Regions from separate parts of the Homo sapiens genome. Here all the other regions are linked to region 3. The links are contacts of gene promoters, found by promoter capture Hi-C in human tissues and cell types (Jung and others, 2019). All regions are on one chromosome and are shown on one strand. The core of a region is centred on a gene start or on the middle of the fragment in contact, and the rest is flanking DNA. Distances in the headings are between cores, read along the strand shown.

Region 1 (3,417 bases), core at 811-3,310, 410 kb after region 3:
GCCCCTACACCCACCCAGTCCCTGCATTGGCACACCCATCAGTTTGCTCAGAGCCATGTGCCACCACACCTTTTCGGGCACAGAGCCCAAGTAGGGACGCCTGGGCTTGTCCTCTCTGCCAAGACCCTGAGTCAATCCCCAAAGACTAGGCAGGCATATGCGGCCGACTGCAGGGACCACCTGACTGGCCCGACAGCAGGCCTGCTGCTCTCTGAGGTCTCTCAGCTGCTGGGGATTTCCTCATGGCCCCCGGGGACTTCCAAATTGCCTCTGCTTTGCCAAGCTCCCCCAAGGCCCAAAGCCATGAGCCAGCCTTGAGGATCCTTTCCCAAAATCCTCCACAGCCCTGCCCCACATCTCATCAGGACTTGGGTCACTTCTGGGTCTCCTAAATGTACCACATGCACTATGTTCTCCTATCCACCCCCTCTGGTAGACAGGAGGGAATAAACATAATGAAGCATTGTTCTCTTTTTCATATAAATGACAACTCTTCTCCATTTCCACAGAAGAAAAAAAAGGAAGCCAGCTTAAGGGTCAGCCACAGCAATTTAAATAAAATATCAGTAAGGTCTTCCTGGGTGTGAGAGATGGAGGCCTGTGGTGCTTATTCTCAAAGTCAGAGAAGTTCTTCTAGACAAGCCTCAGGTTCCTCGTAACACTGGACATCCAATAAATATTTGAGAATCTGTGTGTTCACCTCTGGAGCCCCTATTGGGCCTGTTTCTAAAACCCTCTGAAGTAAAAAATAAAGCACAAACCCTATGTCCATAGAAACAGGAAGAAGCAAAAGCCTCTACCTTGCCTACCAACCCACCACCTCTGTGCTAACAGCCTGGGCCAAATCCACTGGGGCATGTGAGTACCTGTGTGTTACAAAGCTGGGCAGAAGACATCCTTGGCGAGGAAAGGAAGCGCTGCCCCAGTTGTGGTGGCACACAGCCAGGGACCTGCTGGCCCTGGGGCATTAGGATTCCAGAGCTGGTGGTGGTTGAGGTGTAGAAATTGCCAGAGAGGACAGCTCTTCCTTCTTGAGAGGAAGGGGAAATGCCACCATCCCCTGCCTTACCAGGGGGACTCTGAAGGAGGAAACAAACCTTCAAGAACACCCAACTATTTCTTTCTGGGAGCTGTTTAGAGCCGTACTGTTCAATATGGTAGCTACTAGCCATGAGTGGCTATTCAAATTGAAGCTGGCCGGGTGTTATGGCTCATGCCCATAATCCCAACATTTTGGGAGGTCTAGGCAGCAAGATCGCTTGTCTTCCTTTGATGACTGATTTTGAGGTCTCTCTTCTGTGCCTTTGAAAGACCCTATAGAGGATCCTCTACCCTTTGTCCCGCCCATTTTCTTCAAAATCCCAAAACTGTAGCTCTTATTGTTGCTGTAGAAACAGATGCTTGTCAAACATGAAGTTGGTTGGAAGGGCTAGTTTTGGCTGCAGGAATTGCTTTCAGCTCATCTGGGGAGGAGAGAGGAGGAAGAAAGGAGGAGAGAGGGGGCCCCAGGCAAGGGCCCACAGGTCAGGAGTTGCTGTGGTTGCAAAGGTGTTGTTAACACAAGACCAGCCTGGGCAACATAGTGAGACCCCGTCTCTACAAAAAAAATTTTTTTTTAATTAGCCAAGTGTGGTCCCAGCAACTTGGGAGGGGGAGGTGGGAGGATCACTCAAGCCCAAGAGTTCGCTGCAGTGAACTGTGATGGTGCCACTGCACTCTAGCCTGGGTGACAGAGCAAGACCCCGTCTCAGAAAAAATTCCAGTTAAATGGAAACAATGAGGATACTTCTGATTAAATTAAAATCAAATAAAATTTAAGGTTCAGTTCCTACTAAGTTGGATAGCATTATAGACCATTTCTACCCTTGCAAATTGTTCTGTTGGGCAGGTCTGGTCTAGAGGTTCCCTTTCAGTGTGTCCTGGTCCCTCTACCAATGCCTCCTTCAGATGATGCCCCCGCCTACCTGCTGTTGTCTCCCTTCCTCACCCCAGAGTCTGCTTAGACTCCTATCCACACATGCCTTGCCTTGTTCCCTAGGCCTCCAAAAGAGGTGGAGGAGGGGACTGTAGTCACAATTTAATACCCAGCTGGGAGCAGAAGCCAAGACTGAATGGAAACCTACTCCCACCCCAAGGCGTCCCAGGCCTGGGAGAAAGCCCCTCAGTGCCTGCACAATCACACAATGGTTCCTTGTTTCTGCATTCTCTGGGCCAAGCACGAGTAAGACATCTGGAATGCAGTGGCCTGAGGGCTTCCCCAAGCCACCCGCTGCAGGACTTATCTGATGTTAGTACTCCTATAGAATCAGAAGTCCCAACAGAATCCTGAACTTTCAACAGCAAATAAGGCCAATGAAGCCTCATCCAGGGCATGCCAGGATTTCTGCCATGGAGCAGTGAGGCCCATAACTGGACACCTCCCTGTGTCACCAACTAGATGAAGCAAAGGAGGAGTAGGAAGGGGAGGACACGGTGGAGAATGGACTCTGGACATATCTGACATGCTGGAGAGGAGGCTCAGAGAAGCCCCCCAGCCCCGCATCCACAGAAGAGCAAAGGAACAGATTGGCGGGTCTGACCACTGTTGTGTTCCGTCACAGAGACTTCACTGGAGAGGTTTTGCTGCAGTAAAAATCACAAGTGGGAGAGTCTAGGCATGCTCATATGGGTGGTGGAAGGAGCAGAGGACAGACTCTGGAACTGGCAGGTCAGGACTGTCTTTCTGTTTTATGCCTCAATTCCTGCTTAGTCCTAATCTAAATGGGCTGTCAGGAGCAAGACAGGTGTGAAGAAACAAAATAAATTGTAGAAAGACCAAAAAGTAGGGTGAGTTTGTTCAAATGGAAAACAAATAGGTAGAAAGACACCTGGTACTCCAGAGGTCTTGCCATCAGCTAAGAATCTGACTGGAGGGAGTCACAGAGAAAGCAGCCCAATTTTAAAAACTGGAATCAAACTTCAGACCAGATTGGAAACTCAGGCCAAAGCAATCCCTCGCTAAGATTACTGTGCAGCCCTGAGTAAGCTTAGGCCTGTTCCCCATCTCTACCTGAAAGGCACTTTGGGCATAAGCATCAGCGTGGGGACAAGAATAAAGCAGTTCTCCAACACTCCCCGTGAGCAGAGCTGAGCCATTAACAGGAACAGCACCTGTGACATTCCTGCGGGTACCAAGCTACCAGGCACCAGTGCTTCCTGACGTACCAGAGACAGATTAATGAGGATGATGATAATGTTCACTTCTTCTTTTTTTTTTAAACAGGATCTCATTCTGTCACTCAGGTTGGAGTGCAGTGGTGTGATCATGGCTCACTGCAGCCTCAAACTCCTGGGCTCAAGCGATCCTCCTGCTTCAGCCTCCTAAGTAGCTAGGACAGGCATGCACCACCACACTGGGCTAATATTTTTACTTTTTGT
Region 2 (3,480 bases), core at 541-3,040, 340 kb after region 3:
ATGAGGGCAGCAGGGAGAGAGGGAGGTTGAGAGAGAGAGAGGAACAAGTATTAAACTCAGAGAATAAAGACACAGGGGGAGGGAGGCGAAAGGAGGAGAAAACGGCAGCAGCCCTGGCAAAGTGGTGGTGAGAGCATCGGAGGAAATGAAGCAAAATAATTTGCGTCAGTGAAAATAGCTTCATGGAGAATGTCATGTAAATTAGACTATTGTTCTATTTCATCACTTTTCCCCCTCTAAACGTTTAGTTCAATTTATTTCATTGTCAACTACCTGGAGCCTCGTGCCATGCCGTGGTGAACCACGGCAGTGGGGCGGGGAAGCCGGCATTATCTGCAATAACAAAATGTTGTTTGGCCGAATAAATTAAACCAATTAGAGGGGGCTGCTGGGTGCTTCTGGTGAGGGGCCAGGCTTGGGGAAGGGGCCTTGGGGGAGCTGGAGAAGGGAGGGAGAGATGTTACTTTTTCTACCCAGTCTACCTGCTGTCTCTGGGAGAGGATGAGGAAGGGTGTGTCCTGGAGGATCAGGATGGGCTTGATCAGGGGGTTGGGATTCTATGTTGTGGGGGCAGCAGGGATATGGCTTTGTGGGGGGTGAGGGGGGAGCGAGGGCTCTTCTTTCTCCCTGCTGCCACACTGGCCAGTAGGAAAGAGATGGGCAAGGGGAAGCTCTGGATTCCAGGGGTAGCTGTCTGTATGATCAGAGGACTATGACTGGCTAGAAAACAGGGGAGTACATTCCCCCAGTGGATGGGTATTAGGAGGAAAGAAGTGGGGGCAGTGAAGAGATTAGAGGAAGGAGAGAATGGGCAGAAAAAGACAGAAATGTGCCTGTAACTGGGTCAAGAATCAGTGGAACTGGTGCCTCTTCTGCTGCTATTCACGGTAAGACGTCAGAGATCCAGAGCTGGCCAGGGCTGTGGGATTAAGAGTCCCCTGTGCCCCATCCCAGTTTTGATTCCAAGGGTCTGAACTATCAGGAAGCTTGATCAACATTTGTTGAATGAATAAGTGGAGGTGACATTTAACTTACATCAAACCAAAGCCTGGAGCCTAATGGGAAAACATTCCCTGGAAAAAATAAGGGCGACGCAGCCCTGGCTAAGAAGAAACTTCCTGTGCCCATGCACATGCCAGAAGCATGCCCGGGCCGCAGTCACAAATGCCAGACAAGAGACACAGGCCTGCCCTCATGGGATCCAGGCGCTACTTGTCCATTCCTTGTGGCACAAGGTGGCTTTTCCTCCCAGCTCAAGGCCATATGCTCACCTGGAACTCTTTAAGCTGCCATCATCAGAAGCTGCCTTGGAAGGTCCCTTGTTTTTTGACAACCAGGACTTGACCCCGTCAACACGGTCCTCCAGCTCCGAGTCCACATCAGAGTCTCCCTCACTGTAGGGATGAGGAGCAGAAAGGTAGACAAGGCATAGGCACCTGCTGCCCACGAGGGGAGCAGATGGGGGTGCAGGGGGTGTCTTGGGCAGGGGGGATGTGGGCAGCATGCACGTCGGTGAGTCGGGAGGGCGGGAATGAGAGAGGTTAGACAGAGCACACCATTCACAAGGAGCCTGTCCCCACTCAGCAGCCACACTGTGTGACAACCACCAAGAAGACCCTCAGGAGCATGGAGGCAGCTCCCAAGCCAGTTATCTGTGACAGGCCACTGACCAATCAAGGGAGAATGACTTAAAGACCATCCACTCATCAATTTCAGCTAAATGGCTCTGAGCTAAAAAGAGGAGCCCTGGGTTCTTCAGTGACTCCTTGAGGCCTACTCTGCTGTTTCTTGTCTGCCATTCCTCAGATTGTGGCTATAGCTGCTGTCAATTTCCATGCCTTTGTTACAAGAGCTGGGCTGCCAGCCACAGAGCAGAAGAGAAGGGCTTCGTAGGATTTGGAGTTAGCTTGAACCTGAAGGTCTCCTTAGTGGATGGCAGCACCAACCTGGGCTCTAGGTTAAGGAGGCCCAGGCCACATCCCAGATCCACCCTGTGGCTTCTCTGGCTCTTAAGAAACAGAGAAAGGAAAAGGGGCGGGGGGCGGGGGGCATCAGCATTTCCAGAGGGACTAGCAACAGTTTCAGTATCTAAATTGTCCCTGGAGACCCAGCTGGGCTCAGAAAGTCCCACACCAGAGCCCTGTCGCTCAAGGTCTCCTCTTCCGTCCTCAGGTAGCCCCCAGCCCTTGCTCACAGTGCTTCATCGGGCAGAGCTGACCTTAGCACTTGAAAGAAAGCCCAAAGGAGTCCAATTCTGAGGCTGGAGTCATGGCCACCCCCTCATGAAGCAGCTGGGCTTGGAGATAGCTTCTGAGTAAGATTGCTTCTAAAATTCTGCAGAATGTCTGCTCACCAAGTTGCCCTGCTATGGATAGGCTAGGGTTTCTCCTCGATATAAATTTCCTTTCCTCTGTGTCAAGAGGAATGGCTCCATTCCTGAATTATGTTCTTAAATAAACAGCCACACAGGCATGTGTGCGCGCGCGCGCACACACACACACACACACACACACACGAAACCAGCAGATTGTTCTGGGGACCATGCGAGAGCCCAACTCATAGAGAGGGGAATAAAGAGGCATGTTTTATGGGCTTCCATCAAATACAGAATTATAACAAAGACGAGGCTGGCTGATGCCCCGGGTAAACAGGAGTTTAGCAGACAACCTCGAAACTGCTAATGCAAGCCCTGTGCCCGTCCGAGCCTGGCAGATTTACTGTGGTGCATGGGCCCCATGGAACACCAATACCACCTGATTTATACACCTGTGCAAAAAACCTCCCTCTCTAGCTTCAGAGCCTGTAATTTATCACCACCGTTCATAACCATATTGATTGCCTTTAGAAAGGAGGTGCTGTATGCATCGCAAAATCTATGTCTACATGTTAAAAGCGTTTCCATATAAATCTCCCTTAATACCGTGCTGTTTACTGCTTTCATTAAGGTTATGGCAATAACAACTGTATCTCTAAGTAAATCGAAACATTATTTCTCTGCCTGCCTTACTGCGCTGGGCTCAATAACTTGGAGCTGGGGCCCAGAGCTGCTGAGGAAGGAGCCACACCACCTCTCTGCCATCAGCCGGAACCTGGTTAGAGCTGCACGTCCCCATGCGTCTATGTGAGCACACACCAGTGTGTGTGAGTGTGTGTGCATGCGTGGTGTACCTGTGTGTGTGCATGCCTGGCAGTGGTTTAGAATATGATCTTAAATGCGCATTTTATCAGCCCTTGAAGCTCTTGCCACACAAGGATGGCAGGGTTGAAACACACAGGGGACAGACAGTTGTGGGCCCAGAATATGAATTTTCCTCCTTACATACAGAACAGTGGATGGGTTGCAAAGCTGGCCTGCCTGCCCTCGCCTTCCCTTTAGTTGCAAGCATCTAGAAGATGTTCTTTTCCTTAAATAATCAGGCCCGTAAACAAACTCCAGGGGCAGGCAGGCTCAGAGGGCAGTTGAAATTTTAAATGGTTGGA
Region 3 (3,585 bases), core at 668-3,167:
CATCATGGGGTATCAGGGCTGGCAAAACCCCTGCTCTGCTTTTGGCCTTGGATATGGAAACCTCAACCACTTTGTTCTCCTACCACCTCTTTGCCCTTCCTACCCCTTCCTCCCTTCAGTCAGTGTCCCCAGGGTCCAGCCTGGCTAGAGTTAGAAGGCAGACCTAGCCTTTGGAAGCAGGGTGGCCTCCAGAGCCTTGCCATAAAAAGGCTGAAGGCAGCCGGGCGCAGTGGCTCACGCCTGTAATCCCAGCACTTTGGGAGGCTGAGGCGGGCGGATCACGAGGTCAGGAGATCGAGACCATCCTGGCTAACGTGGTGAAACCCCATCTCTACTAAAAATACAAAAAAATTAGCTGGGCGTGGTGGCACGCGCCTGTAGTCCCAGCTGCTCAGGAGGCTGAGGCAGGAGAATGGCGTAAACCCCTCCAGCCTGGGCGACAGAACCAGACTCCGTCTCAAAAAAAAAAAAAAAACAAAAAAGGCTGAAGGCAGCTGTAGCTCCACACAGACCCTACCCTTTCCCCTAGCCCAGTTAGAAAATAAGTCTGGGCCGGCGGCGGTGGCTCACACCTGCATAGGCAGTGCTTTGGCCAGGAGGATCCCTTGATCCCTTGTGGCCAGGAGTTGGGAGACCAGCCTGGGGACCATAGCGAGACCGCTGTCTCCACCAAAAAAAAAAAAAAAGAAGAAAATAAGGCTGGGTGCGGTGGCTCACGCCTGTAATTCCAGCACTTTGGGAGGCCAAGGCGGGCGGATCACTTGAGGTCAGTAGACTGAGGCCAGCCTGGCCAACATGGTGAAACCCCGTCTCTACTAAAAATACAAAAATTAACCAGGCATGGTGACGGGCGCCTGTAATCCCAGCTACTCTGGAGGCTAAGGCAAGAGAATCCCTTGAACCCGGGAGGTGAAGTTTGCAGTGAGCCGAGATCGCACCACTGCACTCCAGCCTGGATGACAGAGCAAGTCTCCCTCTCAAAAAAAAAAAAAAAAAAAAAAAAAAAAAAGTATTTGGTGCTTACCGGGACTCTATCTCCATACTTTGGAGCAGGGCAAGCCAGGGCCTGCCTGGACTGGCCATTAGGCCTGCCTAGCTTCTGCATAGCCCGGGGCTGGGCGGTCCCCGGGAGTGCTGCCACCTCCCCTACACTTTCATCCTGAGGCAGGATTTGCTAGACGTCGGCTTGCCTCTCTTCCCCAGCAGGAGGGCAGGAGTCACTAAGTGCTGCAGAAAAGATCCGCGCTGGAGATTGCCCGTCCCCCCCATGCCTTTCCCCAGAAACAGTTGAGAGAATGGGTAGCTGGTGGGACCAGACCGGTTTCCCAGAGGACAGGAAGGCCAATAAAAATATCAGCTGCCTGCCTGGAGTGTGGTGTCTTCAAGGGTGGGGGTGGCGACCAGGCACCCCAGGACTGGGCTGGGCCCGACCTCGGTGGCAGGGCTGCGGCCAAGGGAGGAATGTGGGCGCAGCCGGAGGCTGGGGCCGAGGTTCCTCTGGCCCAGCGCCCAGTCCAGCCTCCCCGCCCCAGCTGGGCTCCCCGGAGCTGGTTGCCAGGCTTCGGCTGCCTAGCACCTGGAAGCTGGGGCCACGGTTCCTGGGCTGCTCACGGCCCCGGAGGCCGAGCTGTTGCCTCTGGAGAAGAAAACCTTTGTGGCGCGGCCCGTCCCCTTTTCCGACCCGCACTTCCCCGGGGCCCGCGGGCTCTGGGGAGAAGCGGAGCCACGATCTCTGTCCCCCAGGGGAAAGAAAAGCCCATGATCCCGTGGGTGGGCGAGACTGGCGGTCACCAGACCCAAAAACCATGCACTCGGGGGTGGGCGGGGCCGCGAGGGCGCGCATTAGGACCGCGCGGCCGCGGTCCGCCCTCTCTTCCGGAGGGCGGGCTTCACAGCCGAGCCCTGGCCGCGACCGCCAGTCGGCGCCGCCCGGAGCCGGGAGCGCCGCTCCAGCGAGGCGCGGGCTGTGGGGCCGCCGCGTGCCTGGCCCCGCTCGCCCGTGCCGGCCGCTCGCCCGCCATGCCTGGCTTCGACTACAAGTTCCTGGAGAAGCCCAAGCGACGGCTGCTGTGCCCACTGTGCGGGAAGCCCATGCGCGAGCCTGTGCAGGTTTCCACCTGCGGCCACCGTTTCTGCGATACCTGCCTGCAGGAGTTCCTCAGGTGCTGGCCGGGGAGCAGGGGACAGCGGGGGCGGGGCGGGGCGGGGGGCGCCGCCTGGGGAGGGTCTCGGGCCCGGGGCAAGGCGGGCCTTTGTCTGCGCTGCGACCCTGTGACCTCAGGGGCGCCCCGTGACGTCACGGGGAGGGATGACGTCAAGCCCCGAGGGAGGCCCCCCCCGCAGGAATCCGAGGGGTCCGGGCGGGTCCCAACTGCCCGGCCCGGGGCGGAAGACCTCGGCGCCTTCTCGTGGGGTCAGGAGGGGAAGAGGCCCTTCCCCGTCACCTGAGAGCCGGCGCGGCCTCAGCCTTGAACTTTGAATCCTGGGGGAAGAGGACAAAACCCGCTCCCGCGTGGCAGTTTGAGCCTCCGGAGCTTTCCCCCATCTAACCTCTTCTGATTCTTCGAACGTTCAGAGAACGGTAGCTATTGTTCTCCCATTTCACAGATCATGAAACGAGATTCAAAGAAAGGCTGCGACTTGCCCAGGGTCACATAGTTACTTAAAGGCTTAACTAGGATTTAAACCCGGACTGCTTATGATCACACAATGGAGGAAGGACTGAATCCTCCCCCGAAGAAGGACCCCTCTAGGCGGCTCCCCTCTCTCCCGGGGGCTGGAGTAAGGCGGGTGGTCCATAAGTCATGAAGAAGGGGGTCGCACTCGTGTTGTTACTGAACTCCCGCTGCCCTCTCAGGACGCAGGTTAGCCCTTGGCTCTTGGGCATCCATCAAGTTTCTGGGCGCCCTGTATGTCTTGAATCTCCTGCTCACGCAGGGAACCCCTCAGGCCCGGGTGTGGGAAGCAGGGTGAAGGAGCCCCGACTCTTCGGAGGTCATGCCCCCAGAGCGCAGGGGAAGGCCGAGTCGGCCACTGCCTGGCTGTTTGCTGGGACGAGGGGATCGAGGGCCTGGCAGGGATAGTACCTCTGAGACGCCTGCCTCCGGTGCTCCCTCCCGCCGTGCCTCCCTCCCTCGCTCGGTCCTCCGTAGCTCCTACTGGCGGAAATCTCAGCAGGCCCTTTGTTTTCTGTTCCCCACAGCCTGGGCCGGCTCCTGCCCTCACATATGCTCCGGCACAAGCTGCAGGACTGCCCCCTCCCCCTCGGCAGTGTACACATTTACTCTCCTACAGACACAGCCCCATTGTCTCCGCCACTGCTCTTCCCCGGCCCTCTGGGTTCCAGATGAGGCCAGCTGAGCCCCCCGACCCCCCCACAGCTGACCCACCCTGACTGCCTCGGGAAAGGAGCGGGGGAGGGGGCCGTCAGGCCGGATTCCTTCCACCACCTTCTTGGCCCCCCTCTCTGCCACTCCCCCTCCCGGAAATCCCCTCTTCCTCTCCCACTCCCACACCCCCTCCCCCCATCCTGTCTTCTTCCCTGGGCCTTGGCCTCCACTGCACAGCCTGGAGCAGCCTCTGCCC

The links. Contacts are between HindIII fragments. The study calls those that stand out against the background at their distance.
Region 1: a contact is called between a fragment that was not itself captured here and the fragment with the promoter of TRAF4 in region 3, in 1 of the 25 tissues and cell types used here (dorsolateral prefrontal cortex).
Region 2: a contact is called between a fragment that was not itself captured here and the fragment with the promoter of TRAF4 in region 3, in 1 of the 25 tissues and cell types used here (spleen).

The regions. Positions count from the first base shown.
Region 1 is chr17:29,149,485-29,152,901 of GRCh38, forward strand. The region is part of intron 2 of MYO18A (myosin XVIIIA); the gene reads right to left. All of the region lies in intron 1 of LOC124903967 (a long non-coding RNA gene), which reads left to right. Among named protein-coding and RNA genes, the nearest start is that of MYO18A, 29 kb to the right of the region's middle. RefSeq lists enhancers at 152-341, 362-411. The HindIII fragment of the contact is 7,800 bases long and covers 1-3,417 here.
Region 2 is chr17:29,081,045-29,084,524 of GRCh38, forward strand. It overlaps MYO18A (myosin XVIIIA), which reads right to left. Exons shown (of 42, transcript NM_078471.4): 41 at 1,272-1,394. Among named protein-coding and RNA genes, the nearest start is that of PIPOX, 40 kb to the left of the region's middle. The HindIII fragment of the contact is 3,628 bases long and covers 1-3,480 here.
Region 3 is chr17:28,742,094-28,745,678 of GRCh38, forward strand. TRAF4 (TNF receptor associated factor 4) reads left to right here and starts at 1,918. Exons shown (of 7, transcript NM_004295.4): 1 at 1,918-2,162. The coding sequence starts at 2,020. NEK8 (NIMA related kinase 8) reads left to right here. Exons shown (of 15, transcript NM_178170.3): 15 at 1-1,362. RefSeq lists enhancers at 994-1,994, 1,018-1,312 and silencers at 1,018-1,312, 1,767-2,176, 2,197-2,396. The HindIII fragment of the contact is 18,595 bases long and covers 1-3,585 here.